Regions from separate parts of the Homo sapiens genome. Here regions 2, 3 and 4 are each linked to region 1. The links are contacts of gene promoters, found by promoter capture Hi-C in blood cells and fetal thymus (Javierre and others, 2016). All regions are on one chromosome and are shown on one strand. Each heading gives the region's core, a stretch centred on a gene start or on the middle of the fragment in contact. The rest is flanking DNA. Distances are from core to core; before and after follow the strand shown.

The links. The method cuts DNA at HindIII sites, captures the fragments that hold promoters and counts their contacts. A CHiCAGO score of 5 or more calls a contact.
Region 2: a fragment that was not itself captured here is called in contact with the fragment with the promoter of IKBKB in region 1 in 4 of 17 cell types (naive CD8 T cells, activated CD4 T cells, naive CD4 T cells and 1 more); the score reaches 5.9 in naive CD8 T cells.
Region 3: a contact is called between a fragment that was not itself captured here and the fragment with the promoter of IKBKB in region 1, in 2 of 17 cell types (neutrophils and total B cells). The highest score is 7.0, in neutrophils.
Region 4: a fragment that was not itself captured here is called in contact with the fragment with the promoter of IKBKB in region 1 in 1 of 17 cell types (non-activated CD4 T cells); the score reaches 5.3 in non-activated CD4 T cells.

The regions. Positions count from the first base shown.
Region 1 is chr8:42,269,944-42,273,092 of GRCh38, reverse strand. IKBKB (inhibitor of nuclear factor kappa B kinase subunit beta) reads right to left here and starts at 1,791. Exons shown (of 22, transcript NM_001556.3): 1 at 1,624-1,791; 2 at 888-1,010. The coding sequence starts at 992. IKBKB-DT (IKBKB divergent transcript) reads left to right here and starts at 1,843. Exons shown (of 4, transcript NR_185843.2): 1 at 1,843-2,442. RefSeq lists a silencer at 1,511-1,800 and an enhancer at 2,297-2,796. The HindIII fragment of the contact is 12,915 bases long and covers 1-3,149 here.
Region 2 is chr8:41,994,286-41,997,330 of GRCh38, reverse strand. All of the region lies in intron 2 of KAT6A (lysine acetyltransferase 6A), which reads left to right. Among named protein-coding and RNA genes, the nearest start is that of KAT6A-AS1, 56 kb to the left of the region's middle. The HindIII fragment of the contact is 3,556 bases long and covers 1-3,045 here.
Region 3 is chr8:41,971,267-41,974,284 of GRCh38, reverse strand. The region is part of intron 8 of KAT6A (lysine acetyltransferase 6A); the gene reads left to right. Among named protein-coding and RNA genes, the nearest start is that of KAT6A-AS1, 79 kb to the left of the region's middle. The HindIII fragment of the contact is 756 bases long and covers 1,318-2,073 here.
Region 4 is chr8:41,945,806-41,948,682 of GRCh38, reverse strand. It overlaps KAT6A (lysine acetyltransferase 6A), which reads left to right. Exons shown (of 17, transcript NM_006766.5): 11 at 771-932; 12 at 1,999-2,092. Among named protein-coding and RNA genes, the nearest start is that of KAT6A-AS1, 100 kb to the left of the region's middle. The HindIII fragment of the contact is 4,864 bases long and covers 1-2,877 here.

The DNA of each region.
Region 1 (3,149 bases), core at 542-3,041:
CTCTGTCACCTAGGCTAGAGTGCAGTGGCACAATCATAGCTCACTACAGCCTCAAACTCCTGGACAAGCAATCCTCCCACATCAGCCTCCAATGTAGTGGGACTACAGGTACGCACCAAGGCTGCCTAAGGTTTTTTTTTTTTTTTTTTTTTTGAGACGGAGTCTCACTCTGTTACCCAGGCTGGAGTGCAGTAGCGCAATCTTGGCTCACTGCAACCTCCGCCTCATGGGTTCAAGCGATTCTCCTGCCTCAGCCTCCCAAGTAGCTGGGGACTACAGGCACGTGCCACCAAGCCTGGCTAATTCTTTGTATTTTTAGTAGAGATGGGGTTTCACAGTGTTAGCCAGGATGGTCTCCATCTCCTGACTGCGTGATCCGCCTGCCTCAGCCTCCCAAAGTGCTGAGATTACAGGTATAAGCCACCACGCCCAGCTGGCTGCCTAATTTTTAAACCTTTTTTGTAGAGACGAGGTCTTGCTATGTTGCCCAGGCTGCTCTTGAACTACTGGCCTCAAGGAATTAAAATATTTTAAATTATTTATTTAGTCTCATCCTTTAAATTTTCCTATTTCTATATGTTTTATAACATATAATATCAGTATATATTAGTACATGATATTCTACTGTTACCATATATATATAATAGAGACTAAGAGCTTAACTTTATTTTACTATTTATTTAGGTGACATAGTCAATAAAGCATGGAGACCACTAACCTGGAGTCAGCTCAGAAGTCCTGAAGCCCTCTTCCCAGTCCCCCTATTCACTGTCCCAAGATGACCAAAGCCAAAGGTGAGCCCTTGGCCCAGCAGGATCAGAGAAAGTGGAGGCAGTGAGGAGGGGGCCTGGCTCCCCGCCCCTCCCCAAGCTGCACAGAGGGCCTACCTGATTGTGCCATCGGATGACATTTCCAAATCCCCCTGTCCCAAGGCGCTCTTTCATTTCCCAGGCCCCACATGTCTGCGTTGTCAGGGAAGGTGACCAGCTCATACTGATGTCGTGCTAACTCTATAAGCAATTTGGGATGGGGAAAAAAGGTTAGGATTAAGAAAAAAATGGAGCTCAAAGGGATGGAGAAGGCAAGAGATACCACTGCTCTTGAATGGGAGAGAAGAAAAATACAACTGGTTTTTTATTTTGTAAAGAAACCAATGTGTTTGGTTGGTCCAAACTTTGTGGCAAACTTTTGTCCCTCTCACCCTCCCCCATCCGGTTGCTGTGGCATCAGGCAAGGAAGAAAGTCACCGAGGGAGGCGATGCCCACGCCCTTGCCCTAGCGAGGGGATCCCCAGCTGACTCCACCAGGGGCGCCCGGGCCTGCCCGCCTTCTGCCCGAGGTGGCAGGGGCAGAACCTACTTCTGAGCATCGCCGAGGTCACGTGTTTCTTTACAATGTTCCCATAAATCGCAGGTTCCCCTCAAAGCCACCCACCCCCAAGAAGCCACCCCAGGGAGAGCTGTTTCTCCCGGCTTCCCGAACTCCAACCCGCACAAGTGAAACGCTCCCCAGTCCGCAAGCTGCGACTTCCCAGCGGCACAGAGGGGTCTTCCGGGCCTTGCAGGCAGCGGGGCGGCGGGGCCTGCAGGTGGCACCCGGGCCGCACCCACGAGGGGGACTCACCTGTCGGCAGGGACGCGGGGCAGGGGGCGGGCTCCCCGGGGCGGGGAAGGCGGGGCTGGGGCGGCCAAACCCGGGGCTATGACACCCCCCTGAAAACATTAAAATGCGGGAATCTTAACGCGGGCAGCGCGGCGCGACTTCCTCAAACACTTCCTGCTCTGACGTCACGGAGCACGTTGGCCGCGGCCGCTCTTAAAGAGGCCGCTCCCGGCGCGAGGCAGACCAGGTCCGGATGCTGCGAGTGCTGCGCCTGTCCCGGGACCCTCGACCGGGCGACTCCCCCGGGGCGGGGGTGGCGTGTGGTCTCTAGACAACTGAGGGAAAGTAGACAGACCGTGCTCACCGATTTAAAAGAACAGCCCTGAAATGACCCCCGTTACACCCTGTTCTCTTTAGACAAGTTACTTCCACCTGGAGCGGTTTCTGGGCCCGGGTATGGGGATTTCTTCACCCGGCCCCCTAGGCTTTCACCTCGGTGGAATTTCCCGCGCCCCCGCTGGGATGATTTAGGGACTGTTGGCTAGAACTGCCCTTGCCTACCGCCCTACTGCGGGCGCTCCCCTGTCTGGGGGGTGCTTGGCTGGGTGTGGAGAAGGATCAATCACAGCTGACTCCTCAGAGGTGACAGCCCCTGCCCCCTTAAAAACAAGAAAAGACCTAGCAGTGTGAAGCCAAACTGCACCCCCAGCCCCGGTGACATGAGGAAACCGTGAGGCGCTCAGCCTGAGGTTCATCGTTCATCTCCTTCCTGCTTGGAATCAGAATGTCCTCACTGCTGAGTTTCTCCGTTTTATGGGATTACATTAGTGGACAAAGGAGGTGTGTGTGTGTGTTGCTATATTTTATTCAAGCAGAAAAAAACTACCAAAGGAACCTGAAGATGATAATAATAGCTCACATCTATAGAGTGCTTACACAGTGCAGGGCTCTGTTCTAAATCTCTGTACTTAGATTTCCTTATTCAATCCTCAGGGCAACCCTGTAAATTGGAAAATACTGCATCATCATCATCATTATTATTATTATCTCGCTCTGTCACCCAGGCTGGAGTGCAGTGGTGTGATCACAGCTCAGTGCAACCTCCAACTCCTGGGCTCAAGTGATTCTCCTGACTACAGGTGCGCGGCCGCCATACCTGGTGGCGGGGTCTCACTCACTGTGTTGCCCAGGCTGGTCTCCAACTCCTGGGCTCAAGGGATCCACCCGCCTGGGCTTCCCAAAGTGTTGAGATTACAGGCTGTGAGCCACTGCACCTGGTCTGCATTATTATTATTTCCAAGGTACATGGCTGCTACGTAGATGAGCTGATACTCAAACCCTAGCAACTGGTTCCCGGGTTCTTAATCCGTGGCTAAAAGTAGCATGTTAAGAAGTTCAGAAGGAGGCAAACTGGATTTTGAATCCAGATACTGCTGTTGACTACCTCTGAGGCACGGGGGCTGGTTACTTAAACACTGTGAGAACCTATTTCCTCTTTTAAAATTTAGGCAATATTAGGTTGAATTGCATTTAATTGTCATTTTTTG
Region 2 (3,045 bases), core at 192-2,691, 280 kb after region 1:
AAAATACAGGTTTCAAGATGAGAACAAATTATAGTAGTTGCTTTTCATTGCATGGGTTTTGACCTATTACTTAAATCATCTGATTTGTGAGAATATGAAAAATCTATACTAATTGGTTTTGTTCATTTTTATATTGTAAAATTTATATAAAAATTTACCATTTTAACTATTTAAGTGTATAATTCAGTGGCATTAAGTACATTCACACTGTCGTGATACCATCAATTTCTTTTCCATCCATTCAGAACGTTTCCATCATCTCAAACAGACTCTGTATCCATTAAACAATAACTTCCCATTCTCCACTTCCCATGGCCTTTGGTAACCTGTTTTATTTTCTGTCTCTATGAATTTGTCTATTCTAGGTACCTCATATAAATGGAATCATATAATATATAATATATGTCCTTTTGTGGTACACTACTAGATTTTAAAGAAACGAGTTGCAATAATTATAGTTGAACATAAGTTTTGTGTATGCCTTAGTCTGTTTTCTGCTGTTGTAACAGAATGCTACACACTGGGTAATTTATAAAGAAAATATGTTTATTTGGTTCATAGTTTTGGAGACTGAGAAGTCTAAGATCAAGGGGCCTCATCTCTCTGTGAGGGCCTTCTTGCAGTGCTATAACATGGCATAAGGGCAGAAGACAGAAGCGAGCACGCAAGACAGAGAGGAAAAGGGGGCCAAATTCCAACGATAACTAGCCCACTCCCCTGATAACAGCATTAATCTAGTCATGAGGGTGGAGCCCTCATGGCCCAATTACCTTCCGAAAGCCCCCACCTCTTAACAACACCAGACTTGGAGGGGACATTGAAACCATAGATACTTTATAGATGTTTTGTATTTAAATCTATGGTAGGATGTGCTCATTATCCTTTTTTGTTGCTTAGTGCATGTTTGAGTGTTATAGGGAGTATTACATGAATTATATGTGTACTTCTTCCATACTCTTTTAATTGGATATGCCAGTGTGTCTCAGTAATTTCCAGTGGCTGTAAAACTTGAGAAATTTTGTAGCTTTTAGAAACCACATACCTGTATTGCCTGATTGCTTATTAAGTGATCTCTTAGAGGTTTCCAAAGTTATGAGTTTGAGTTTACAAGTGCAGTTTTTTTCCATGAAAATTTCAGTGGTGACAAATTATAGAATTTATCATTCAATTCAGTCTTAACTAGAAATAATTGCATATAATAAAACAGGTTCTTGACTGTTCTTTTTGTCAGTGTTTAAGAATAGAGACAAAATAAAGTTAGATTTGAGTGCCTCAGAAGATATTAGAAAATAGAGATAAGGTTTATGGCCTTTAAAAAATTAAAGACAGTATTGGGGGAAAGAAATGAAAATTGGGACCGGGCGTGGTGGCTCACTCCTGTAATCCCAGCAGTCTGGGAGGCCAAGGTGGGTGAATCACCTGTGGTTAAGAGTTCGAGACCAGCCTGACCAACCTAGTGAAACCCCCGTCTCAACTAAAGATACAAAATTAGCTGGGTGTGGTGGCACATGCCTGTAATCCCAGCTACTCGAGAGGCTGAGGCAAGAGAATCACTTGAACCAGGAGATGGAGGTTGCAGTGAGCTGAGATCACCTCATTGCACTCCCGCCTGGGCAACAAGAGCAAAACTCCATCTCAAAAAAAAAAAAAAAAAAAGAAATGAAAATTGGACTTTTTAGATGGGAATATCTCAGATGATATATCTGTGTATCTAGAAAATGTCATTATTTAAGATATTCTAAATGGTTATGATTAAAAATTATTTCATGGTATAAACTTCAACAGAGAGCATTGGGCAAAATTTTTACTGTTCCTGTTTTTAAAAGTTCAAGTCAGAATGCCTGCTTGTTACCGAATCATCCACCCTGTGTTTGCCTCAATACTGCCATCTGGTGATTATTATAGAGATCTCAACAGGGTGCTTAAAGGAGATGTAGGGCAACCGACGACACAAGGTACACAATATTGGTGCCCTCTGCCTCAAATCTCCCTCTGCTTTTGAGTTGCTATGGCAGAAATCTTACTTAGTTATGGCCATGAAATCACTTTGTGAGATTGCTTTGTAAACAATAGAGCATTTCTGTACTGCTGTGATTATTACTGCACTACACATGGCTTTTTATCAGGCTCATACCCAACTCATTGTTCTTTCTATGTAAGGTACTCTTATTATATCTAGTTCTACAAGGTAATTCAATTAATTATTCAGTAATACTTATTGAGTGACTTCTATATACTAGGCATTGTTTTTATTTTTATTTTTATTTTTTTTTTGAGATGGAGTCTCGCTCTTGTTGCCCAGGCTGGAGTGCAGTAGCACGTTCTTGGCTCACTGCAACCTCTGCCTCCTGGGTCCAAGCGATTCTCCTGCGTCAGCCTTTTGAGTAGCTGGGATTACAGGTGCCTGCCACCATGCCTGGCTAATTTTTGTATTTTTAATAGAGACGGGGTTTCACCACGTTGGCCAGGCTGCTCTTGAACTCCTGACCTCGTGATCCACCTGCCTCAGCCTCCCAAAGTGCTGGGATTACAGGTGTGAGCCACCGTGCCCAGCCTAGGCATTGCTTTTAGTAGTAAGAATATGGTCCTAAAAAACAGGTGAAAATCAGAGTCTTCATAGAAGTTACATTTAGTTAAGAATAAATAATAAGATATACATACACACATGTTAATTAGTGAAAAGGGTTAAGGGGAAAAAACAAAGCAGGGAAGGAACTTGTGAATTATTGGGGTTGGTGGGTTGCTTTGAAATGCTAGATGGGGTGTTCAAAAAAAGCCTTACTGAGAAGGTGACTTCCTGAGTAGAGATCTGAAAGATCTTGGGACGAACATTCTAGATATAGAAGGAAAGCAAATGCAAAGGCCCTGTGCCTGTAACCACTGCCTTGAAAACCTAAGCAAGGAAGCTGGAGTGGAGTGTAGAGGGAGAGAGCAATAGAAGATGAGGTCAGGCAGGTAACTGAGGGGGAAAGCAGGGGAGTACAGATCACACAGTACCTTGTAGTTCATGTGGCATTTAATCTGAGATGGAAGCAATTGGACTGG
Region 3 (3,018 bases), core at 446-2,945, 300 kb after region 1:
CAAAATGGCAAAACCCCATCTCAAAAAAAAAATAGAAAAATTAGCCAGGTATGTTGGTGCACACCTGTAGTCACAGCTATTTAGGAGGCTGAGGCAGGAGAATTGCTTGAGCTGGGGAAATGGAGGTTGCAGTGACCTGAGATCATGCCACTGTACTCCAGCCTGGGTGACAGAGTGAGACCCTGTCTTCCAAAAAAAAAAAAATTGCAATTCTTTGTGACACATGGCAAGATCGTAAATATATAGACAGAGTCTATGTGCCACATGCTGGAGATGCCAGTGAATGACTGAATTCTTTCCCTGAACTATAGGAGAGATTTGTGAATAAGTAATGTCATTAATATGAAAAGTTCAATTATAGAATACTTGATGTTTTGGGAGAATAGGGAAGCCAGCTTCTACTTCTGCCTGGGGAGGTCAGAGGAGGATTCATTGAGGGGCCTTAAAGGATATGTAGGAGTTGTACATATCCCTTAAAGGGATATGTAGGGAGTTGGTTCTTATATAATCAGAAGGAACAGAAGTGAAGGTGGAATAGACTTGAAGATAGGGGAAAACATGCTTAATTGTGGGAATTAAAATGGCTCAGGATAAAGAATATAGGGTGTGGAGAATGGCAGGAGGTGAGGTTGGAAAAGTGCAGGGGCTAGATCATAAAGGCTCTTCCAGATTATGTTCATTTATTTTTTGTCTTTTCCTTCTTTGCCACCAACAAATGTACCATGTAAGCCAAGTTCTCTTTTATCTTGAAAAGAAGAATTTCTAGGCTGGGCACGGTGGCTCACCCCTGTAATCCCAGCACATTGGGAGGCCGAGGCGGGTGGATCACTTGAGGTCAGGAATTCGAGACCAGCCTGGCCAGCATGGTGAAACCCCGTCTCTACTAAAAATACAAAAATTAGCCGGTGGCACACGCCTGTGGTCCCAGCTACTCGGGAGGCTGAGGCAGAAGAATCACTTGAATCCGGGAGGTGGAGGTTGCAGTGAGCCGAGATCGTGCCACACCACTCCAGCCTGGGCAACAGAGTGAGACTCCATCTCAAAAAAAAAAAAAAATTCTAAGGCTGATGCCGAGGGTTCTAGGGAAAACTCTTCATATTAAGAGACCCAGTGGTGGTGAATAGACTGTTGATGTCGGTCATTATGTGAGTACTTTTGGAAAAATAAAACAGCAGTACAAATACTCAGCACGCATTTACTCAGCATTCTGCTGTATTATGATTTAACAAAATATTGGCTTTGATTCAGGTGGATCTGGGTTCAAGTCTTGATCTGTCATTTACTAACTTCTCCTTTGGGCAGGTTGCCCTCAAAGCTTGTTTCCTTTCATGCTAGTGAGTTATTATAGGTACTCTAGTAGAAATCTACATGGACTTCAGTGGGAACTGAAAGGAGGCAGTAGTTATGTTCTTCCTGACTGAAAGAATTTTTTTTTCTCCTCCCGAGTAAGTTGCAGACATAATGTGTTAATATCCCTTTACTCCTAATTTTTTGTGTGTATTTCCTAAAAACAGAAATGTTCTCATACATGACCATGGTCCAATCATCAAATCAGGAATTTAACACAAATTAAGTACTATTATCTAATTTAGTTGTCACGTCTCTCTAGTCTCCTTCCAATTGGGAACAGTTCCTCAGTCTTTATCTTTCATGACCTTGACAGTTTTGAAGTGCACAGGTCATTTATAGAATGTCATCACTTTGAGCTTGTTTTATTTTTCATGATTAGAAAATTCCACAGGTGTGCTGTGTCCTCCTCAGTGTGTCACATCAGAAGGCATGTAATATCCAAGTTCTCATCACAAGTGCTGCTAACAGTGACCACCTGGTTTAGGTGGTATCCATGTTTCTTCTCTAACATTGCTTTCTACCTATAATTAAGTATCTTGGGGGGACATACTTTGAGACAGAAATGCAGATAACCTGTTTTTCATCAAACTTTTATCTACCACATTTAGCATCCAGAGATGATTTTTGCCTGAATCATTTACTTTGTTGGTGGCCAAACATTATTTTCTAATTCTATCATTTCTTTGCCATTTATTAATTGGCATTCTATTGTAAGGAGAAGCTTTTTCTTCTTCCTATTTGTTTATTCATTTTGTTTAAACTCATAGATTATTTTATGGTTATAATCCATTGCTATTAGTATTTATTTTGATGCTTAAATTGTTCCAAATTTAGGCAGAGGGGAACTCCTTTCTAGAAGCTCCTCTGTCCTTTTAACACATCATCATCATTTTTATTTACTTCTGGCCACAGCAAGATGTTCTAGGCTCTTACTGTTGTAGCCATAGATTCTGGCTTTTAGTGGTGAACAAGAGTAAATGGTAGCTCTATCCTGTACTTGCTTAGGCCCACAGAGATGTCATCTTGATTTTTTTTTTCTCTGTCATACTTCACATTCAGTCCATCAGCAAATCCTAATGGTTCTGCCTTCAGAATATGTCTGTATTTGCTACTGCCAACCCACTGTCATCTCTGGCTTAGGCTGCTATAATTGCCTCCAGACTAAACTTGCTTCTGCTTTTGCCACCACCCCACTCTCTAGTCTATTTTCTTCATACAGCGGCCAGGGTAATTATTTTTGAACGTAGGTTGGATTATACCACTTCCTTGCTTAGAAAACCTTTCATGTCTTACAGTCTTCTTTAGAATTAAAAAAAAAAAAAAAGAGTCTGTTCTCTCATCTCCAAGGCTGTATATGATTTTGTGCCTGCCTCCCTCTTTGGCTGCTCTTTTTGCTCTCAGGCTACTCCAGCCACAGCCGCCTCCTCTTCCTCAGACACACCAAGCATGCCTGCCTTGGGCCTTTGCAGTCGCTGCACCTTGCCTCGATGGCCCTTCCTCTAGAGTCGATGATTTAGTAGGTTCACTGCCCATTCCATTTAGGTCTTGCTCATATCCACACGAAAATAGCTTACAGCCCATTGTGTCACTCTATCCCCTGACCTGCCTGCTTTTTCTGCATAGTACCTACCACCTCTTGAATTTAAATTTTTTATTTCTAGAATGTAA
Region 4 (2,877 bases), core at 91-2,590, 320 kb after region 1:
AGAAGCTGGGGTAGGTGTGGTATATACTGTTTGAAGAGAATATTAAACTACCTGGGTTGTTGAGGAGTTCTGTTAGTATCGCAGACAGTGTCTTGGGAGCTAATGTGGGCATCCATTGGCGTTTTGATAGAAAGCTCTGGCAACTCCATGAACACAGACAAGGCTGCCAGGAGCAAAAGAGCAGCAGAGTGCTCCTGGGCCTGGCCAACCTGGAGCCTCATTTACCACATGATTGCTTGAGGAACCCGCTTGGTGCTTCTGCGTGGCAATAGTTAGTACCCCCTTAAGTAGTTTTATCTGGGTTCAAGCCCGATCATGGTAGTCAGATTGCATTGCTTCAGGCAGCTGGCATAGATTAGACTACATAGTTACATCTTCTTTTACCTAATAAATGTATTTTAGAAGGGTTGTATTTAGATCTTTTGTTGTGTTAAGTACTTTGAAAACGAAACTTGCTATCTAAAGGATTGCTACAATTCATCTTTTTATTAAAGCAAAAATTGCTCTTTTAAAACCAGATTATCACTTCCTTATCTGGCTGTTCCTGCTATGTTGAAGGTATGAGGTTTTATATATTTGGTTGTCTTAAAACAGCAGATAGCATAATACTGCCATTTCAAAGGATGGCTTCCAGGTTCCAAAGTGTTCTGGTCATGGACACCTTCTCCTAGTCTGGACTGTGGATATCTAGAGATGCTTTTAACTGATACATATTATTCTAGAACTAAAGAGACCCTCTACTGACTGTTTTGTTCTGTTTATTTCTCTAGGTTGATGGGAATGTGAGTACCATTTATTGTCAAAACCTGTGTCTTTTGGCAAAGTTGTTTCTTGACCACAAAACCCTCTATTACGATGTGGAGCCATTTCTTTTTTATGTACTAACACAGAATGATGTCAAGGGCTGCCACCTTGTTGGCTACTTTTCTAAGGTAAGTATGTCAGCTTAAAGTTTGTTTGAACTCATATAGAAATCTGAAAGAATCTTTGCTGGTTCTCACTCGGGGACACAACAAGATGCAGCACCTCCTAGGTGTCATCTAGCTGTTTGGAAAGAATAGAAGGAACATTTGGAAACTTACCAGGTGCTAGAAGGTGCTTAGTAACATTCAACAACCTATATTCTCCTAGGATTATGGACTGCTGGCAATACTCACGGGGAAGGTTTTAAATGGCTTCTCTTCCCATGGTAATAACATGGAACTTCTGAAATAAACAGTCATTAGCTCTCTGAGTTCTGTCTCAGCTTCAATCTTCTCTTCCTTATTTGAACTTTAGGCATAGAAATAAGAGTAAGAAGGCATTTTGGTTAAAGGATATTTTCTCCTTTTTTAATCTTCCATTCCCTTAGAGGGAGAAAGTTTATTTCTAGTCAGAGAACATAAAAGATATACTTTTATTTAAGCAAGCCTGTGGTAAAATCCAAGTGTATAAAACAGTTAGGGGAAGTACTAGCTTTTTATAAGCATTTATAAGAATTCTTTAGGCTACTTCATTAGTTAGATGTGACTTAAAATATATTCACTCATTTATAAAATTATAAAAGTGACTATTTTGTGTAAAGTTAGATACAACTAATAGGACTGCTCTGAGGAGCACCAGAGCAGGAGAGAAAGAAAACTCTGACATAATTAATGAGTCTTCTCACTTCTAGAGTGGCACACTGATTCATCATTTGTAGCTTTACGGATTGTTTGGGACTCAGATTCCGGTGCTGATCCTTAGGCATTGGCGTACTGTGTTTGAGTTGCAGATGGTGTTGGATGGCATTGTTTTGTTATATATTTTTACTCTCCTGGGATGGTTGCTTTGTGGGTAATGGCAGTGACTTGACATTATCCTATCTTCTCCCAGCTGGGTAGTTGTTTGTTGATGTACGTTGCTATTCCCAAAGGACCAGGGCTGTGGGTTTTGGCCATTAGTCTTTGTTTCTTAATTCACGTTATTATTCACTTTTACCAGCCTGTTTTCAAACTTGACTTGTGTTTTCTCCACCAGGAAAAGCACTGCCAACAGAAGTACAATGTTTCCTGTATAATGATTCTTCCTCAATACCAGCGTAAGGGCTATGGCAGGTTTCTCATCGATTTCAGTAAGGATTATATTAATTTCTCATTGGTCTTTTCCAGTGGACCTTCTCTGTGTGTGTGTGTGTGTGTGTGTGTGTGTGTGTGTGTGTGTGTGTGTGTATATATATATATTTAAAGATTTGTAGGTGCTTTGTTGGCTGCTAGTATCTTTTGTCATATAGCTATATGATTCTTTAAAACCTAAAGCCACTGCTGGACACTGTGGCTCATACCTCTAATCCCAGCACTTTGGGAAACTGGGGTGGGAGGATTGCTTGAGCCCAGTAGTTCAAGACCAGCTTAGGCAACATGGCAAGACCCTGTCTCTACAAAAAATTTAAAAAGTTAGGTGGGCATGATGGCATGTACCTAGGGTTCCACCTACTCAGGAAGCAGAGGTGAGAGGATCACTTGAGTGCCCAGGAGGTTGAAGCTGCAGTGAGCAATGCTACCCCTGCATTGCAGGCCCTAGCCTGGGCCACAGAGCAAGACTCTGTCTCAAAATAAAAATGGAAATAAATAAAACCTAAAGCCACACGTTCCTTTTATTTTGGTTGGACACGAATTTTTTTTTTTTTTTTTGAGAGACAGAGTCTCGCTCTGTCACCCAGGCTGGAGTGCAGTGGCGTGATCTCGGCTCACTGCAAGCTCTGCCTCCTGGGTTCAGGCTATTCTTCTGCCTCAGCCTCCCGAGTAGCTGGGACTACAGGCACCAGCCACCACAACCCGGCTAATTTTTTTGTATTTTTACTAGAGACGGGGTTTTACCGTGTTAGCCAGGATGGTCTCGATCTCCTGACCTCGTGAT